Regions from separate parts of the Homo sapiens genome. Here all the other regions are linked to region 3. The links are contacts of gene promoters, found by promoter capture Hi-C in blood cells and fetal thymus (Javierre and others, 2016). All regions are on one chromosome and are shown on one strand. Each heading gives the region's core, a stretch centred on a gene start or on the middle of the fragment in contact. The rest is flanking DNA. Distances are from core to core; before and after follow the strand shown.

What was found. Contacts are between HindIII fragments. The CHiCAGO score rates a contact against its expected background, and 5 or more counts as called.
Region 1: a fragment that was not itself captured here is called in contact with the fragment with the promoter of RBM38 in region 3 in 2 of 17 cell types (naive CD8 T cells and non-activated CD4 T cells); the score reaches 5.2 in naive CD8 T cells.
Region 2: a contact is called between a fragment that was not itself captured here and the fragment with the promoter of RBM38 in region 3, in 3 of 17 cell types (fetal thymus, naive CD4 T cells and activated CD4 T cells). The highest score is 7.5, in fetal thymus.
Region 4: a contact is called between a fragment that was not itself captured here and the fragment with the promoter of RBM38 in region 3, in 3 of 17 cell types (total CD8 T cells, fetal thymus and naive CD4 T cells). The highest score is 5.7, in total CD8 T cells.
Region 5: a fragment that was not itself captured here is called in contact with the fragment with the promoter of RBM38 in region 3 in 2 of 17 cell types (naive CD8 T cells and non-activated CD4 T cells); the score reaches 8.3 in naive CD8 T cells.
Region 6: a fragment that was not itself captured here is called in contact with the fragment with the promoter of RBM38 in region 3 in 7 of 17 cell types (total B cells, total CD8 T cells, naive CD4 T cells and 4 more); the score reaches 12.3 in total B cells.
Region 7: a fragment that was not itself captured here is called in contact with the fragment with the promoter of RBM38 in region 3 in 1 of 17 cell types (total B cells); the score reaches 5.7 in total B cells.

The regions. Positions count from the first base shown.
Region 1 is chr20:59,170,706-59,173,405 of GRCh38, forward strand. The region is part of intron 1 of ZNF831 (zinc finger protein 831); the gene reads left to right. Among named protein-coding and RNA genes, the nearest start is that of ZNF831, 8.2 kb to the left of the region's middle. The HindIII fragment of the contact is 2,416 bases long and covers 136-2,551 here.
Region 2 is chr20:58,645,470-58,648,169 of GRCh38, forward strand. The region is part of intron 1 of LOC107985410 (a long non-coding RNA gene); the gene reads right to left. Among named protein-coding and RNA genes, the nearest start is that of STX16-NPEPL1, 4.4 kb to the right of the region's middle. RefSeq lists a silencer at 2,024-2,318. The HindIII fragment of the contact is 2,566 bases long and covers 1-2,553 here.
Region 3 is chr20:57,390,015-57,392,714 of GRCh38, forward strand. RBM38 (RNA binding motif protein 38) reads left to right here and starts at 1,382. Exons shown (of 4, transcript NM_017495.6): 1 at 1,382-1,804; 2 at 2,640-2,700. The coding sequence starts at 1,568. It overlaps RBM38-AS1 (RBM38 antisense RNA 1), which reads right to left. Exons shown (of 2, transcript NR_149006.1): 1 at 2,265-2,700. RefSeq lists silencers at 1,065-1,464, 1,815-2,004 and enhancers at 1,099-1,600, 1,601-2,100. The HindIII fragment of the contact is 15,883 bases long and covers 1-2,700 here.
Region 4 is chr20:59,042,508-59,045,207 of GRCh38, forward strand. PRELID3B (PRELI domain containing 3B) reads right to left here and starts at 279. Exons shown (of 6, transcript NM_016045.3): 1 at 192-279. The coding sequence starts at 223. SLMO2-ATP5E (SLMO2-ATP5E readthrough) reads right to left here and starts at 339. Exons shown (of 6, transcript NR_037930.1): 1 at 192-339. RefSeq lists a silencer at 197-596. The HindIII fragment of the contact is 676 bases long and covers 948-1,623 here.
Region 5 is chr20:59,147,067-59,149,766 of GRCh38, forward strand. It overlaps a transcript of ZNF831 not described here. Among named protein-coding and RNA genes, the nearest start is that of ZNF831, 15 kb to the right of the region's middle. The HindIII fragment of the contact is 8,698 bases long and covers 1-2,700 here.
Region 6 is chr20:59,120,766-59,123,465 of GRCh38, forward strand. It overlaps a transcript of ZNF831 not described here. Among named protein-coding and RNA genes, the nearest start is that of ZNF831, 42 kb to the right of the region's middle. RefSeq lists an enhancer at 1,262-1,811. The HindIII fragment of the contact is 191 bases long and covers 1,247-1,437 here.
Region 7 is chr20:59,006,928-59,009,627 of GRCh38, forward strand. CTSZ (cathepsin Z) reads right to left here and starts at 327. Exons shown (of 6, transcript NM_001336.4): 1 at 59-327. The coding sequence starts at 201. RefSeq lists enhancers at 1-390, 1,071-1,230, 1,251-1,360, 1,501-1,580 and a silencer at 11-610. The HindIII fragment of the contact is 269 bases long and covers 1,257-1,525 here.

The sequences.
Region 1 (2,700 bases), core at 94-2,593, 1.8 Mb after region 3:
ATTCAGCTTCTCAACTGAAAGAGACAGCTTCCATTTCTCCCAGCAAGGACACACGTGGAAGGAGTCAGACCTCCCTGGAAGAGATGTGATTTGCCCACTGGATAGCAGAGGAGTTGGCTGGCTTAGCAAGACTGAAGCTTATCTGGAGTTGCTGGGCAAACAATGGGCAACTTTCTGGAGTACAGGTGGGAGGTGGCAGGCAATCTACAACCAGAGACGTGGGTGTGTTATGGGAGTCTGGCACTAGTGGGACAGAAGTCTCCAGAGCTCCCAGAAAGACAGTGTGCCGGCTGTGTGGTTGCAGAAGGAGCAGATCCATGTGAACCCCCCAGCCACAGGCAGGCTGTGCAACAGCTTTGGTTTTTATGTTGTGGGGGCTGCAGACAGATTACTGCTGGGCTGAGGCTGCAAGGTTGCAGAGGGAGTGAGTCCTGGGGCCTGTGGCTGGGAGGGGGAACTCCATGGCATGTCCTCATACCCACACCACTGGCCCTCTCGTGGGCCCCTCCTGGAAACTGCAGGAAGCCTCTTCCTCCTGCAATGACCCTCCAACATCCTCTGTTGGAAAAACTTAGCACTGTGTCCACTTTAAAGGAGAAAATCTTTAAAAGTTTGCATCCCTTATCATACAGCATGTATTGAATGGCATTTTTTGGAGCTGAGAGGCAATAAATTTCTATCTGGCACAGTCTATCCCTTTGCCTGTGCAGCCCCATGTGTACCCTTTACATGCATGTGAACTTTCTTACAACAGAATGGCTCTGTATTTCCACCTAACAAGATACATCCATGCTTCTAGCAAGTGAAGAGGTTCTCACTTGTTCGAAATGAGCAGATGCAGTCATTGTACTCAGCACAGGCTGTATCAATTGCTCTTCAAATTCAGTCAAGCTCTCACTGAATATTCTGTTCCCTAAAGCCTAAATTGTAAAGTTAACTTCCAATAACTCATATATAAAAATTTAAAACATGAAGTAGGAGAAAGAAGTAGAGAATGATTAGTAAAGATAAAATAAAACTCATTCATATAACACACATAGAGACCATACACAAACCCCCTCCAGTCCTCGTTTATATAATTGATCATGAAGTTGTAGTTCATATCTGTGACTTTCTTCTTCCACCACCCATTCCACATCTTCCTTGACCTCAGCTGCCCTGGGTTCTTTACCTCTTGGAATATCTACTAACTCCTGAAAAGTATGAGTATGTACTTTTCTCCCAAATTGCAGTTGTTCCACTATGTGGCAACAGGTCCCTTTGAGAAGGCATAAAGAAAGATTTACAGTGTATCCTTTTGGCAATAGTAGAGTGTCCTTTTCAAGGGGACCTGGCTTTCCCTTCAATCAAGGGCCTGTAGGTCTGCAAACTGCCTTAGTTCTGAAAACTGGGTAAAGGGCCGTGAGTCTCCATTTGATGACTGAGTCACGTTACTTGCCACCACACTTAGGACTTTTCCTATGATTTCCTATGATATCATAGTAGACTGACTGGTCTTTCCCTCCGAGGGACAACGTGATCAGTTAGTTACTGCTAAGATCTCTGCGAGCCAAAGAATTCGGATTCCTGCCATTCCCTGTTGCTCCCGTGGCACGCTCACCTTCTCTTTGGCAATGAAGTGATGCCACTTGGTCCTCTGCTATTCTGGGACCCCCCAACAACCACAGTGAAATGAGGGAGCCTGTCTCAATAGTGGTGTCCCCTACAGCTCTTCCTGGCCTGGAAAAAGAGCAACCACAGATCTTTTCGGGGATGCGGATGCTCCCCTCATTAATGCATTTCTCAGCGCCCTCCTGAAGAGGGGCCTTCTGGGTCTTCTTGAGGCATGCCGCTGGGAGAGTTGGAGGTTGCCTGTGATACACCCGGCCCAGCAGGCATATTTCCCATAGTCTTTAGAGCCCCTCCTCTGTGTCATGCCAGGGAAGCTCCAGCATTCCGGCCTCACTAAATGCAGGTCACCATCATTTCCAGATTTCAGTCAACCAACCTAGGAAGCTGTTAAAGCCACATCCAGCTGCACAACTAATACACTAAATTGAGACTCTCTGGTAAGTGCACTCCTGTCAATGAATTTGGTCCAATGGCTGGTGGTGTTTTCTGCCCTCCTTGGTATAAACCCACAGAATCCATTTGCACACACATGTTCCCTAGGATTCTGCTGACATATTAGCCAGGGCGTTCAGCTCTTCTGGTGTGTGAGCCATTTCCTTCTGGGTCATAGTGAGCACCTGTCTCCTTGGGCCATGCTGAGATTTGACTCAGTTAAATCTAGTTAAGTCTAGAGGGAGCAGGGGCTTGTTGTGGTGGGTTCTGAGAAGGATCAGTATTCCCTTTCAAGGCATCTACCCTAAGTGAAGGCATCATAAGGTTTTCCAGCTCAGGAAGTCTGGCCTCTGTGGACAGTGGAGGGGAAGCTGCTGCCACTTGTACGGGAGGCTCAGAATGACCTGGAGGTCAATGTTGTCAGTTTCTCTAGGTCCAACAAGATGTCCTCACCTCGAGTTTTAGGATCCCCTTTTTTCCTGATTAGTGCCCAAATTTTCACATGAGAAGCTTGGCATGACTGTGAATTCAACTGCCATTTTAATTCAGTAACTTGCACCATTAATTTTTTTGTTTGATTTTCAGCAACATCAGCCCTGTGGCTACAAAAATGAGACATTCTTTGAGGGCTGTCATGGAGGCTGTGTGATCCTCAGA
Region 2 (2,700 bases), core at 21-2,520, 1.3 Mb after region 3:
TTGATTTGGGTTCTGTCCCTTGTGACCAAAGGAGTCTTGAGCCATGCATGGCCACATAGCTAATAAGGGGCTGCTGGTTGCACAGGCAGCATCTGGAGAAGGCTGGAGTCCAGCCCTGCACTTGCACATCACACAAATTACCACGAGCAGGTCAGTGGTCATGGCCATGGGAAAAAAAACTAGAAACGAGTGAGTTGGCTATGTTTCAATACCTGCTAGCGGAAAAACACAATGATTTCCTTTATGTTTTTCAGGGTTTGAGTCATCCAGGTCAGTCCTGGCTTGGCACATTAACTTATTGTTCCTGCCAAGGGAGATGGTTAAGATGGGAGGGTTGATTTATTTGAGTACACATGTGTCCACATCATCCTGGAAAAAAAGTAAAATGCAGATATGCTTTGCTGGCATGTGTTGTGACCCAAGAGGCCTCTTCTTGGCCTCAAAGACCAAAAGCCACGATGTTAGACATTGTTTCAGTCTTGAACTTGACCAAGCATGGGCAGGCACCTGGTATGATGGTGACATAAGGGCCCTGGGAGAGGAGAGTCCTCTCCCCACACGGTGGACAGGGTAGGAGGATTACTTTCTATTGAATAGTCTGAGACAAGAGTGGTGAGAAGGAGCCAGTTATTTGAAGAACCTAGGAAGGAGAGCAAAGCAGGTGCTAAGGAGGTGTGAGGAATGGTGGGAAGGCTAGTGTGGCTGAAAAGGGGTGAGCGAGGGGGACAGAGAACTGCCCTAATCTCTCCACCCATTTTGAGTCTTGACTGTCTGGTATTCTCTAGCACTTAATATAGTTAATCTCACCTTTTGTGCATTAATCCATCCAGTCATCCATTCCGCAAACATTTATCACACCTGACAGTGTAGGGGGTGCTGTCTTCAATGAAGGGTTCACCAAGCAGAAGGGGCAAGACACATCCCCCGCCACTACCCCCACCAGGCAGAGAAAGGCCTGTGAGCCAAGTCCTGGAAAGAAAAAAGCTCACCATTTAGGTGGGGCCTGTTGGGCAGGGCTTTGAATGCCCAGGGGGCACTCCGCCATGTGGAAAGTGTAGAAAACCTAAATGCAGAACTCCAGGAAATACTGATCTATGGGAAAAAAATTGTACTGAAATCCATGATTCTGGAATAAATCAGATCTAGTCTTATACTATATTCTAATACAGCCAAGTGGTGGCAGGGACTGAAGGTTTAAGAGAAAGCGAGAAGAGAAACACTTAAGATGGAGACTACTCCATTAATTAGCTTCATTTTTTTTTTTCTGACAACCAAGAAAAGTCCATCATTAGTTAATATTAGTGATGCCCAGCTTGGTTCAACTTAGAGCACCTGTTTTCTGCTGAGCGTCATTTGAGATCGGCTGGCATGGGCCAGAGGGAGCTGTTTCAGGGCCTCAATCAGGCAGTGACATGATCAGATTTATGCTTTGGAAAGGTCACTGTGGCTGCAGGATGAGGAGGGAAGAGACGGGTGGTTGTTAGCAGGCTGCTGGGAAAATGTACACGATGAGAACCAGAATTTGGGTAGAGACAGTGGAGATGCAAATTCCCTGAAGGCAAGAGTTTTGCTGTTTCATTCTTTCAGCAGTGCCTGGCAAGAGATAGGCACAGCCACTGGTAGATTTTTAGAAATGCCTACTGTATTGAATTGTCTGGTATTAAAAGCTACGGGACTCCAGACAAAACAAAAGTGTTGCCTCTCTCCAGAGTCTCCCTTCTTGGGAGAGGCATCATAGCTGAAGACAGACCCAGATAGGGAGTTTTCTGTTGTTGGAAATACTCAAGGTTTTGAGGAACTATTTGGGGACACAGAACACACAACTCCTGTTACCCGAACCTGGCCCGAATCTGTCTGTCAGATCTGTGCAGACGAGACATATGTTAGGCCTGGGGGCTTTTGCTGCTTGATAAGCAAACAACCATCTGTCTTTCTATAGGTGGGAGAAAGACCAATGTTAAAAGGTGTCTTTGAGATGGTTTAGCCCCCTCTTCCACATGAGTGTGCACTGCAGACACATCTGGATTCCCAAGGTCCAGAACAAGAAGCTCGGAAACGTGCTTAGATTTCCAAGTGTTCAGTTCTCAATACCATGCCATTCTCTTTGGAGTTTATGATGCCTTCCAGGGAGAGCAGAGCCCACGTGAGCTTTCCAACAGTAAGACTACTGCTGTAATAAATCATATTGCCCATTTGTGGCGCACTTACTCTATGCTGAGGTTGTATAAGGGCTTACATGAGCCCTATCTCATTTAAATTGTTTTCACCAAAGGGTGTGTGTCCCACTGCTGACCTGTTGAGCTAACCATCCCCTCTCAGTACTTGAAAACCTGCACCTGCCCAAGCCATGGCCTGGCTTCAATGGGGCTTCCTCCTGCACTGAATGAGATGACAAGAAAACAATGAAACACTTGTCCCCAAAAGTGACTTATTGGATTCGTTGGCAGAATGTTAGAAAGTGGGTATGAAGCCCAAGAAACAGGACACGGAGCCTCACCAAGCCCGAGGAGTATTACCGAATCCTAGCCCAGGCCAAGAATGAGTCACAATGAAAGCTTTTAAAATGTAAAACCATCAACCTAGATTTCAATTCCAAGGAAACACATACTTGGCCATGGGGGAATGCTTTAAAAAAAAAAAAAAATCAAGCTTAAGTCACTTGACAGGAAAATAAAACAGCCAAGGAACATTCAAATATAA
Region 3 (2,700 bases), core at 132-2,631:
CTAGAGCGGGAGCTGGGGGAGGGAGAGGTCAGAGGTCAAGGCTGCCGCGTGGAGCGTGGGCCGTGGAGTGGGGGAGGGGGCGGGCAGACTCCTCCCCGCCGGCAGCCAGGGCAGAGGGCTGGAGGAAACGCGGAGAACTCCTCGGTGCTGGAGGAAACGAGGGGAACTCCTCGCCGGCCTTGCGGTCCCCCACAGCCCACGGAGTGCCACTCCCAGTCCCCACAGACCCCACCTGCGTCGCCCTGTGCTGAGAGGAGGCCGCAGGGCTGGGGCCGGGAGTGACCCCAATTAGAGCTGCTGTTTCCCAGCTGCATAGGTCCCAACCGCGGGGGCTGGAGATGAGGCGGGCTTGAGGCCCCTAGTCCCGGCTTCAGAGGTGGAGGGTGTGACCCGCAGGTCCGGGATCCCGGGGTCTGTGCAGTCACACGGCCCTTCCCTTCGCTCAGGAAAGCCCGGGGCTGAGTTTCATGCTCAACCGCTGCCAACTTGAAATTCCTAGCTTTTGAATAAGGGGCCCCGCGTTTGCATTTTGCACTGGGCCCCGAAAATTCTGTGGCTGGCCCTGCCTGGTGTGAAGCTCACAGAGCCCCACTATGCGCCGCCTTTCTATGGCTGGGGGCCGGATGAGGGACCCGGGTCTGCTCTTACTCGCCCCAAGGGTCCCTGACACCAGCCCAGAACGGGGTGGAGCTGGAAAGAGCCCACACCTGCTTCCTCTGCCCACCTCATCTCCCGCGGGGCCTCTGAGACCGCCCGGGACCCGCTTCTATCGCGGCACCGTGGTGTAGCTCCCTCCGGGGTCGTATGCTGTATGTTTACTAGCCGAATTCTCAGTCCTGGACGCTCCGTGGGGCCAGGGAATATGATCTGTGCTCCGCTGCAGCCTCGCGCCCAGAGTAAATATCGGTCGGATGAACTAATCTTACATATAAAACAGAAATCATTTCCCTTTTTTAATATGGCACGTGGCTCTTCCCTAAGTCGCCCTGGGTTAAATACCGACTCAATTAACAAGATGCTAAAAACCGTTTACGTTTTTTTACGTTTTTTACGTTTAATTCACCAGACGGTGCGCTCCACGAGGGAAGGGGCCTGGCCTCCCTAGTTCAGGGTTGTGCTTAGTGCCTGCAACCGGCCGGGCCCGCGGGGGCAGCCAGGAGAGAAAGGCGCGCCCAGCGCCCCCAGGCCCGGATCCGCCCTCAGCCCGCGTGCGCTCCCCTCCCCCCTCCCCCCAATCGCCGCGCGCCCGGGTGCGGCTGGGCGGGGTTAGAACTACGCTTCCCGGCGGTCCCCGCGCGCCCGGGGCGGGGCGGGGCCGGCTGGGGGCGGGGCTGAGCTGGCGGGGGCGGCAGGCTACAAAGCCCGGGGGCGGTGCCGGGGCGCAGAGTCCCCGCAGCGCCGGTCGGGAGCGCAGCGCGGCGCACGTCGGCGCGCACGGCGGGACGGGCGCCGGAGTGGTCGGGCCTGGCGGCTGGACGGGCGCCCCTCGCTGCCCCGCGCGCTCCCCGCCGCCCCCCATGAGCGCAGCCCCGCGCGGCCCGGGTCCGTAGGCGGCGGGGCGCCCCCCATGCTGCTGCAGCCCGCGCCGTGCGCCCCGAGCGCGGGCTTCCCGCGGCCCCTGGCCGCCCCCGGCGCCATGCACGGCTCGCAGAAGGACACCACGTTCACCAAGATCTTCGTGGGCGGCCTGCCGTACCACACTACCGACGCCTCGCTCAGGAAGTACTTCGAGGGCTTCGGCGACATCGAGGAGGCCGTGGTCATCACCGACCGCCAGACGGGCAAGTCCCGCGGCTACGGCTTCGTAAGTGGCCCCCGCGCCCGGGCCCGCACCCCGCCGCACACCTTATCGCGGCCCGGGCGCCGAGTCCACTCCGGGGCACACGCCCAGACGGCCCGCTGCCGCCCCCGCCCCAGGCGCCTCCAGCCGGCGCCCGCACCTGCCGCCTCTCCCGGGCGCGCTCCTGCCGGTCCCGCCCCCACCACCCCAGGCCCCGGCCCCCACCCCCACCCCCACCCCCACCCCCACCCCCGGTTTAAAAGGAAGAGCCGCTGTGTTCAATTAGGACTCCTAAGTTGGTGGGGAGGTTTTGGAGCCAGAGGGCACTCGGGATTTCCTGGAGCAGCGGGGGGTGAGGAGCAATGGCTCCACCCCGGGGTGTTAGGAGCTCTTCGGCCTCCCCCATATTTTTAACAGCCCTCTCAGCCGCCCCAAATAAACATCAGCTTAAGTAAAAACGTCTTGAAGACACTTTCCTGCTTACCTTCCAAGCATAGCGTCGCAAACTCCTTCTCAGAGGAAAGTCTCGGCCCTCACTGGTGGGCAAGTCCAGGCGGCCCCCCAAGCTCCCTTCGGGGTTCATTTTTGCCCTATCCCCGCAGGGGATTATTTTTGTCCTTGAAGGCCACATTTCCCAGGCCTTGAACTTTGACGGGAGGAGCTGGAATCCAGGAGGCATCTTTGTGGGAGAGCCCCAGGTAGGGTTCAGAGGAGCTTTGGCTCAAGGACCCTGGGTCACAGGCACCCTCAGAGGAAGGGAAGAGAGGGGTGGCAGCATCCGGTGCCAGGGCGGAGCCGTCTGCCCCTTTCGCCCCTGGTTCCCCCCACGGCAGCCCCTGATGTGTCTCTGCTCCACCAGGTGACCATGGCCGACCGGGCGGCAGCTGAGAGGGCTTGCAAAGACCCGAACCCCATCATCG
Region 4 (2,700 bases), core at 36-2,535, 1.7 Mb after region 3:
CCCTCGGCTAGGGCGCCTCGGGGTCGTGACCTTGGTCTGCCCTCCGTGTCGCCGGGGCCCGCAGGCTTCAGAGTTCGCTCCCCTCGCTAGGCCCGACGCCTAGAAGCCTCCTGCGGGCCGCCTCTGCCTCGCCTCTACTCCAGGGCCGGCGTGCCTGCCCTCCACGGAGCCGACCCGCGCCCCAAACTTACTCAAAGACGTGCTCCGAAGTCCAGATCTTCATGGTGCCGGCACCCTGAGAGATGTCCGGGTAGCGCCAGGGGACAACGAGGCACAGAGGCTACACCTGCCCCTGCCCCGCCCCCAGCACCCCAGCCGGCGGCGCAGTGCGCAGGCGCTGTCGGGCCCGACGCGAGGGACGTCCAGACGCGCGGCCCCACGCCCTATCCCGGCCCGGGTTTTGCCCCAGCCTTGCGCGCGGCGCAAGGAAACCCCGCCTCTTAGCGCCGGGCGCATCGCGCCGGCGCAGTGCCGCCGACGGCAGCTGGAGGGGCCGGCGCGGGCGCTGTGCTGCGCAGGCGCGGCGGGCTTGTAGCGAGCCTTGACCTCTGGGCAGAGTTGGGTCAGGTCCAGGAGGTGCCTGCGCGCCCGCTTGGCCCTCCTTGTCCTTCTGGCCCAGCACATCCTCGCCTGGCATTTCGAGGCGTGTGGACGCATGCGGTCAGCCTGCTGACATAGATGTTCGTTGTGGTGGTCACTTGTGCAAAATTTCCTGGTGCCCTATAGAGAGTTCCAGCCACCTCCTGGGTCAGCCCGGGCTGTTTTCCCAAATCCACCAGCCACCCAGCCGATCAGCTGGGCCAGTCCCACCTGCCCGCCAGGAGCTTGCAGCCCTCGGAGGGGATAAATAAGGCGTGACGCGGAGAAGCTAACATCAGACCTGCCCATGAATAATACCCCTACGAGGGATGCGGTCCGGAAGCACGGTGCCAGGGGTCGGGTAGAAAAGCTTCCTGGCCGGGCACACCTTGCCCTAGGTGCATAGGATGGATCTGAGCTGAGATGTCTCTCCCAGAGAGACTTCCCTCGTCACCGTTTCTCACCTTGTTGCTCTGCTCCGTCACAATATCCTGTTGCATTTTTTATAGCACTTACCCCTCTGACATCATCTTGTTAATTTATTTGTGAAAATTCACAATCGAACTGAGTTCTTGAAGGCAAGAATCTTGCCGGTCTTGCTCAAAAATCATCCTCAGTGTCTCCCATATAGTCAAGGCTCAATGACTACTTATTGAAAAATGAAAAAAATCAATAGCTATTTGTGGGATGAATGAATTAATGGAGTCATCTAGTTTATTTGTTGTAACTTCCGCTAGACTGTAAGCCCCTGAGGGCGAGGCTCTTGCCAGACTTGTTCAGTGATTTCCCCCTTCCTAAATGACAATTATTTGTTGCATCAATGGATGAAAGAATGACTAAGAATTGCTGGGGCAGGAGGAGGTGGCATGTGGTTTCATTCAGAGATGAGCCTTGTCCAGGGAACAGACTGCCTGGCTTAGCTTTCAGAATATGGCTTCCCACCCTGCTCTCCTGCACTCTCCACAGCCGTCTACCTCCTAACAGAACAATTTGCCATTTTCAATGAAGGTTATGGAGGAAAATCTTTACATCTAGTTACTTAGAAGCTTGTTAGAAGGACCACCTCATTCTTGTTCTTAGCTTGTTTGATTGTTAAAGACAAAAAGCCAGGTTAATTTAGGAGGGAGGATAATTTTTCAAAATAACATAAGTCCTTTATACAGGAAAACAAAAATTACATTAGACAGGAAGGAAATAATATGGTTGGGTAGTTGCTAAGTGCAATTTGTGGTACCTGAGATTTTCTTTTTTTAAACCTACAGTACTTAAGAGTGATTTCTTGGGGAGGTAATGCTTTAAGGGCTACTGAGAGTACCTCAGCCTTGACTAAGATGCAGTTAACGTCGCTGGGTGTTAAAAACACTGGTTCAAGAACCATCAGCACAGAACAGCCTGTCCCTGCTATTCCTGGAGTTCCATGAGGCTGTTCACCATTCAGCATTCCTGTTCTGTTTATTTTAGAGAACATTATTCTGCTCTCAAGTTCAAAATTTCTGTGTTTTAGTCATGAAAATTAAATGACACCTATCTCCCGTGCCCCCAACACACATACTATATCAGTCTAATTTTACTTACTAGATCTAGAGTGGTGGGATGGGGCATGGAAAGATGGAGATCCAGGACCCAATTGTCTTCTCTGCGTGTCTCCTCATGGTAGAAATAATACCACCTCTTGCTTGGATTTGGAGGGTAAGACTTACATAATGATTATCTCCTGGAGACTCTGTTAGGAGACACAGAGGAAGCAAATTAATGGTTTTTAGATACCTAAGCACTGCATTACTTGACAGTGCCTCTCACAGAAACAGAGAAGTCATTAACAACAGATCATTACTTTGATTTGAAATTAACTAGGTGACTGGTAGTTATGGCCCTTGCCCCAGGGATGACACACATCTCCACACCCTTCCTGCTGGGATCTCCTGTTGGGATCTTGCCGAGCTCCGTGTCTGGGATGAGAATGCAGACATTAACTCTTACCTACAAGGAACTTTACAACTGGCCAGGAACCAAAACCAAAACACAAGTCAAGAATCAACTAGAGGATATTTATTTATTTTTTAGACAGAGTCCCACTCCGTCACCCAGGCCCAGCCTGGAGTGCAATGGCACGATCTTGGC
Region 5 (2,700 bases), core at 26-2,525, 1.8 Mb after region 3:
GCTTCTGGAAGGTTTAGACCTTTCACCAAGAAGGAGAGGAAAAAGGAAGAACAACAAAGATGGAGAAAAGGGGGAAAAGAGGCCGTAATGTAATGTACATGTAGAAGAGAAGCAGACAAAAAGCTCCAAATTCTGTGCAGTCAGGGGATGAATCAGTTAGTAAAGATCTATTTTTAGTTTCCAAGATCTGCTGTTACATTTTGCCTGGCATTAATTAATGTCACAGGCATGTTCCATGCACAGGCTCTGAAGGGCCCTCGCGTGTCACTCTAGCTGGAGGTACCAGCCCTTCTTAATGGGAGCTCTCCAGTCCTTTGGGGTCTGGTCTCTGACACAAACATGTGTCCAGAATGTTCTGCTCTCTGACCTTGTCCCCTCTGGGTGTATCCGTTAATCTCCTCACTCTGGCCCTTGGATGTCTGGCCAGTGGCCAAGGGAGAATTGCAATTGTTATACTTTGTTTTTTAAAAGGAAAGGCTGTACAAGCTGAAATTGGGAAAAGGCAAAGATGTTGGATCATGGCTTAGAATTTAAAGAAAAGGCTTTGAGGGCAGCTCTCCTACCACAAGGAAGAATGAGGCCCCCCTCATCTCCAAACAAGGCTGATTTTGACTAATCAGATATCATAACTGGAGAACATCTTCCAATATAGTTTAGGCAAAGTGTAATATGTTAGCAAGAACTAATGATATGACTGGGGTTGATCAGATGTTGGCTGAAGTTGTGTGTGAGACTAATTATCTCCAAAAAACCTGTTCATATTTCAGAGGCGAGGCTGTAAATCTGAAGAGCAGCTGAAATGCAGGCATGATTGTACGCATGAAGCCTTGCTTTCTGAGGTGGTAAAAGGGGGGATTACAGGCCAGAATGAAAAACCCAAGGCCACGTGGCAGCACACTGTTGGGACAGCTGTTTTTGTACATTTGCACCAATTATTAGATCAATAAGAAAGTATGACTACATCATGGACCCTAATTAGAAGAGACGTCCCTTATACTCTCTGAAATGCTTGAGAATGTTCTCCTACTAACCTAGAGCCTGATGGGGCCATTGACGCTAATTGTTAAGTGCCGTTGGTCAAGGCCAATGCATAGTCTTCGTTTAGTTCCTAAGTCATTTGTGGTCGGCCCATCCAAGACAGGGACACGGACAATCTCATCAGAGTAGGCTGGGAGGGTTTCCATGATGGAATGGGGCTGGCCTCTCTGTTGAGGGGGGATATCCAAGGGGTGCACATGAGCTCTGAGGACCAGTGGCAAAGTCCCTGTTCAGTCCTTGGGAAGCATCACCACTGCTACATTTCTGATGTTCTGAAGATGGGTTAGAACAGAGCGGCCGGGCGCGGTGGCTCACGCCTGTAATCCCAGCACTTTGGGAGGCCGAGACGGGCAGATCACGAGGTCAGGAGATCGAGACCATCCTGGCTAACACGGTGAAACCCCGTCTCTACTAAAAATACAAAAATTAGCCGGGCATGGTGGCGCGCGCCTGTAGTCCCAGCTACACGGGAGGCTGAGGCAGGAGAATGGCGTGAACCCGGGAGGTGGAGCTTGCAGTGAGTCGAGATCGCGCCACTGCACTCCAGCCTGGGCGACAGAGCGAAACTCCGTCTCAAAAAAAAAAAAAAAAAAAAAAAAAAAAAAAAAAAAAAAAAAAAAGAACAGAGCGTGAGAGCAAGCAGGGTGCTGACTCTGGGTCTCATGTCTTGAGGCTCAATTCCATCCTGTCACCCAGCCAGGAGATTCAGAGGTCCTGCAGCCTCCTACCTCAGACCCACATACCTGGTGTGAGTTCTGCCCTCCTGACCACAACACCCCTGCACCTTGGACACAGCTTACCACATCCTTCCCCAGAGCATCTTGTGCCTTGGAGAGCAGGTGCAGTTGCAGCGTTCTGGGCTGCGGGCACTCGAGTTCAGCCCTGGCCAGAGGCTGTGAGGGGCAGAGCCAGGGGATGGTGTCTCCATTGGTAACGAGGGTCTCCATCCCTTCCAGGCTGGCCGTGTCTGTGGCCACAGATGAATAGGATGGGTGCCCATCTTGATGGGTCAGACAAGGTAAGGGCTCTCAGACCCCATCCTCTGTTTGAGATCAGACCAGAGGTGCCATCAGAAAATCAACTGAAGATTAACCAGCTTCCTCTGGTGCTCAAAACCTAGACTCCCTTTGCTGCTTTGCAATTTCTTTCTGTGTGTGGAGGTCTGATAAGCCAGACGAGATGAAGGGATGTTAATCCTTGGGCCCAGTCTCAATGGCAAACTTCCAATTAAAGAAGATGTGACTGTGGCCTGGGGCTGTGCCAAAGAAGGGCTTTGCTTATGTCTCTTTGTCTAATCTCTGTAATGGCCCCATGTGGTTGGCGCCTTCCCCAATACCATTTTATGGAGGAAGAAACGGAGTCTTATACATTTCATTTTACTTTTTGCATTGTATCTTAAAGATATAAAACTTTAACCTTATACTCCATAATATATCTATTGATCTTACTATAAAATAAGATCTCCCTCCTCCAAAAAAAATCGTGAAGGAAAAGGGTTCCCTCCTGAGTGAGCGCCAAAAGCCTGGGCTTGGCCTGTCGGAGAGAGAGGCTGCAGAGCCCCTGTATGGAGAGCAGACACCATCCACAGGGCCCCCAACACATGTTTCATGCCTGAGCCTTGTCCCTGTGATGTTGACACTGTGTGGATGGCGGGGCTGGAAC
Region 6 (2,700 bases), core at 92-2,591, 1.7 Mb after region 3:
CTCCACCTTTCACCATTCCGGAGCACAGCCTCCTTCACCAGCCTCAGGAAAGAAGCAGGCTCCTGCAGCAAAGTGGAAAGCTGCTCCTGCTTTCCTGGTCTAGGATCAGGACAGCTGAAAGTTCCAGGTTTTGTTTTTAGAAATAGTTTTGATCAAATCCTGAAATTTTCCAGGAGTTCACAGTTGGAAGAGGTTTCACCTGATAAGAAATCACTCCATTCCTCATGCTAAAGAAGTGACTGCTGATGCACTGTGGATTTTTGCTTCTCGGCGAGTGGTGGCTGGGGGAGGACTACAGAGTCATCTGTTGTTTTTGGATGTCTAGCACTCAGTGTCCCTTTTTCTGGTGACAGCATCTCTCTTTTCCCCTGGGGACCCATGGTATTCTCAATCTGTGAGGTTCAGGTGGACTGACCAACATGCATAGACGGAAGCTGTGCTACAGCTCACACCTGCGTCATCCCGAGGAGGAAGAGCACTTTCCAGAGGGAGCAGGGAGAGGTTTGAGAATTCTGAGGGTTCCATGTCATCTCTGCTAAGATTGCTTATTGGCTGTTGAGGCTCCATTCACATGTATGTAGTGCCTGAATATTTCCACAACAAATGTGGAAGGATGATGTGATAGATTGTTTGTAAAAATGGCCACGATTCTCCATCCCTCCTCTCTCATTCTCTTTGCAATGTGACCTTTCTGCCATCCTCCCCACCCCCATCAAGAAGTGAGGTCCACTTCTTTACCCCTTGAATCTAGCCTGGCTTGGGGCTTGCTTTGGCCAATGGAATATGGTGGAAGAGATGCTGAGCTTGTCCCAAGCCCAGGCCTCAAGCGCCCTTGTGGCTTCTGTCTGCTCACACTCTCCCTCCCTTGTCCCTGCCTCAGCAGCCTACTGCCTCTGTGTGGAAAAGCCTGGTATAGCTTAGTGAAGAATGGGGACCATGTGGAGGAGAGCCCGATTGTCCTGGATGAGTCCCTCCTGATCCAGCCTACAGCCAGATGCCCCCCAAACACGTGATGGAGCTCAGTCAGGTGAGCATGAGCAAGCCCAGCTGAGACCAGAAGAACCACCCAGCTGACCTCTACAGCAATGATAAATACTTTTCAGATTAAGCCACTAACTTCTGGGGTTATTTGTTACACAGCAAAAGCTAACTGTTACAGACGTCATCAGTTAGGCTTATTAGGTACTAAATTGGTAGCTGTGGTAAAAAATTGTCTAAACATAATTTAACTCCACACATCCCAGGAAGCTTTGGAAGGTCACTGACTTTGAAAGCGCAAGGTATTCTTGTTGCCATGGATACCCCCATTGAGACATTAGAGTGCAAAGAGAGAAACCTAGTGTTGCCTTGACAACAGGTTTGCAAATCCGAGTCTGGTAAAGCAAAAGACTACAAAGAACAGGAAGAATCAGGAGGAGGGGGAAATTAGCCTAAAGAAGCTTCCCTTCTCCCAGCAAAACAACAACTTGCCTCCATGCAGTTTGAGAGTCTGTTAGAAGAAGCACTGCCTGAATGGGGAGCTATAAAGTGAACAACAGGAAGCCCTTCTCTTTTCATGGCCCATCTCCACAGCAGGAGAAAAGTCTCACAGCCAGGGAGCAGCATGCGGCACTGTCACTAAGTGCCTCCTTCAAGAGTTCACAATTTGCTCTCAGCCAAGCTTCATTCCAAGAATGAGAGTTTGCTCAAGCTGGAAGGGGTCTGAACAGCATCGAGTCCCTTACTCATCCTCTCCATCAGCTGGGAGGGAAGCTGAGGTCCTGAGAGGGAAGAGGGCTGCTCGCAGTCAGTCTAATGTGCCATTAGGATTTTAGTCTAGTCTAGTGGGTAAGCATTCAGGGCCCGGAGTCAGACAGACCTGAGTACAAGTCCTAGTGACACCATTTACTAGCTGTGTGACATTCTGCAAACCAGCTGACCTCGTAAACTCTTTCTGTAAGATGAGGATCTCACTAATGTCAGCCTCAGAGGGTGGTGAGAACTCAGTGAACTAATGCATGAGAAGCACTTACACAGTGTCTAACCTGCAATGAGCTTGCAATAAATTGCGTGTTATTCTTTCTACTATGATCATGTCACTCTGCCTCTACTCTTCAGACTCATTGAAGTAGTACCAAGGAGGCTCAACTGGATCCAGAATCTCCCTCGGGAGGCTTGGTGGTCCATTTTCAGATGCCCTGTGTCATTTTCTGTATCATACAATTGGATGTCACAGTTTCTAATTTTCAAAGCCATTGCATTTTCTATTTCCTCTTCCCTACAGCTTGGCTGGGCAGGCAGGTGGGGCAACACTAGCTTCATTTTTTTTTTTTTCACTTTGTCAGGGAGGAAATTGAACCCCGGGGAGGTTTGACGATCTGCCCAAAGTCCCTGGGAAGTTTCCGGCCGTTCTAGGGCTAAAGCTCAGCTCTCTCGACTGCATCTCCTTCCCACCCCCATGTGGCTACCCCCATAGAATGGCGCATCCACGTAGATGGCCCAGATGTTGGGTTTAAGGGAGAGAGAGAAAGGAAGTTTGGGGCATCTGTTTATGAGAGAAAATCGTCAGCCGTGCGTGGAAATCTTATGCATAGCAAATAAATGATGGGCAAATACCCACTTGCATATTCAGAGGCACATTTCAGATGTGAACATCCTGTCTCACCAAAACAACCCCAGCTAAGAAGTTCCGTCGGGGGTGGAGGACTTTTTCCAAGCCTT
Region 7 (2,700 bases), core at 141-2,640, 1.6 Mb after region 3:
CCTGGCCCGGGCGATGGGCCTCCCGTCCCCCCAGGGCTGCCTCCCCGCCGGTGCCCACCTGCGCCCCAGCGGAGCCAGCCCGTCCCCCCGCAGAGGCCGGTAGCAGGTCTGTCCCCGGCGGAAGTAGAGGCCGCCCTGCGCCGCGCCCGCCAGCAGCACGAGCAGCAGAAGCGGCCGCCACCCTGGCCCGCGCCTCGCCATGGCCCCGCGCCGGCTCCTGGGTCCCGCTCCGGATCCCGCTCCGAGTCCCAGATCCCGCGCCGGCTCCCGCTCTGGATCCCGCCCCGGCCTCGGCCTCGGCCCAGCACCCGGCCGACCCCGCACTTTGGGCCCCTGCCCCGCCCGGCCCTTAAGGCTGCGGCGGCCAGGCCGGGACACTCCCCCGGGGCGGGGCTGTCCCATCGCTGCTCCTGCCCCGCCCGGTGACCCCTGCCCTCCCCGCCCGGCTCCGCGCCCCGCTCCCTCCCTGGCTCCGGGGCACCTGAACTCGCGGGCCAGGCGCGAGGTCGCCGGGCAGACCCCAGCCTGACCCCGCCGCCGGCCGCCGCCCTGAGCGCGGGACTGTCCGGCTGGACTCATTTGCCGGGGTTCCTGGCTTCGGGGTGGGGGGCCGCAGGCTCATGGGCCCCCTTGGCCCTGCATTCCTGGGGCCCTGAGCCCTGGGGAGAGGCCCCCAGCCTCACATCTGGGCCCAGGCCTCCCCTAGGAAGGGATCCTGGGATGCGGCCACCGCCCCCAAAGAAGGGTCCCCGCGCCTGGCTTTCTAAACCCCTTTTCCCAAAGGCCCAGGCCCTTTCGGGGGGACGGTTCCCTTTTGCAGAGAAGGAAGGAGGGATCCTTCTAGAAAATGCCCCAAAGGAAGATTCCACTTGGCGCAGGCATCAGGAGTTATCCAATGTGACTTCCAAAGACGCCTTGAAAAGGTTTTCTGCTAACGAAACTCTTCTTAGTCAAATGAGGAACCAAAAGCAGAAGTGGCCCCCCAGGACGTGGTTTTGTAACTGGGGGAGGGCTTCTCGCTCCCTGCGGCCCCTCTGTTTGTCATGGCCCTTGGGCCCACACCATGGCCTTCTTCTCTGGTAAGAACAGGGCCCGGCATTCTGGGCTGCGACCTGACAGGCCCCTGCTGGGGGCCCTTGGCACAGGGCCCACAGATGAGCTTGCCTGACTCTCTCCATACTCAGTGGCACTCACCACATTCCAAGCGTGCCACGTGGGCAAGGGGAAGTCACAGTGGCTGCCTCCTGACTTCCAGAAGCTTCCATGACCATTCCCGGAAGCGCTGAGGTGGCCATGGAATCCCCGCATGACTGTCCGAGTGGAGAGCAAGGCTGGAGAGCTGCTTCGTCAGCCCAGAAGTTTCAGTCCTTGTTCCCCAAAAAGTGGTCACTGAGGCAAAGTGTGGCCCCGGGGCTCTACCTACTGATGTGTCTCTTATTTGTTTGGCAAGTCGCTCATGGAAACCATTAGTGTCCATCAGTCATCAGAAGGCGGGGTGGGGTGGCCATCCTGGGAGAAGTCCCCAAGCTTGAGCTGGCGGTGGGGGTGGGAGCGAGGCCTCCCAACCTCTGGGCATAAAAGGAGTGGAAAGAGAATTGCCAAGAGGGGGCCTTTCTTCCTCCCATGTCAACCCTCTGGCCTCCCTGACTATAGGAGCTGGGTCCTTGTGAGGAAGAAACCCAGACACAGCTGCCCTTGCCAGGTCATCAGGTGGCATCTACCAAAGCGGCCGGTTTTTGGCTTCTTCTAAAGAAAAAGCTAAGAACTCACAAAATTGTGTGGTAAGAGATATCGTGCCCCTCCCTCCAGGTACCCATAGTTATGATCCAGGTACTGTGAAGTCCAACAGCACATTCTACAGCATGAGAAACAAGCCTGGAGAGGGGAGGGCCCCTTGTGCTTGGCCTCTGATGCCTGAGCTGTGATGTCCTGGGCCCTGGTCCCTGAATCTGGGTGAAAAGGCACCCAAGGTGTAAGCTTTTCTTTCCTGTAGCATGGGGAGAGCTGGGGTGCTCTGAAGATGCCCCGAGACTCTCCGAGCAGGTCCAGCGCATGTAGAAGGTATGACAGGCATGGTCAGCAAGGCAGGCACACGACCCCTGCAGTCACATGAGGCCCTAAGTCCAGAAGTGTAATGCAGAGCTGAACGAGGGGCTCTCCAGGTTCACTGTGCCCTGGGCCCTGCAAATTATGTAGCTGGGTCTGATGACAGCAACCACACCTGCTCCATCACAAGTCCTGTACATCACCCGCTTTCAGCCCAGAGCCTCTGGCAAATCAAACTCACAAACAGGGGTCAGGAGGAGGGGTGAGATGGTCAGGAAGGGGAATAAACATTCACAGTCCTGCTCCCAAATGCTGGCACAAAGCTTAATTTATCTGGGGAGTTCCAAAGAGGAGACTCTCCGGATTTACCCTATTGAAAGTTGGTTAAAGGGAAGGATATTTTTAGGCTGGTAACAAAAAGGACGTCCAAAGTTGACAACTTGTGCCCCCTGGGTTTCCCTAACATAGAAGCAATTCAAGATCAGAATCTGATGGAATAGGGCAGGAAGAGAGGGAGGGAGCCTATCCATTTGAAATCATCATTTACTTTTTCTTTTCTTTTTTTTTTTTTGGAGACAGAGTCTCGCTCTGTCACCTGGGCTGGAGTGCAATGGAGCAATATCGGCTCACTGCAACCTCCACCTCCTGGGTTCA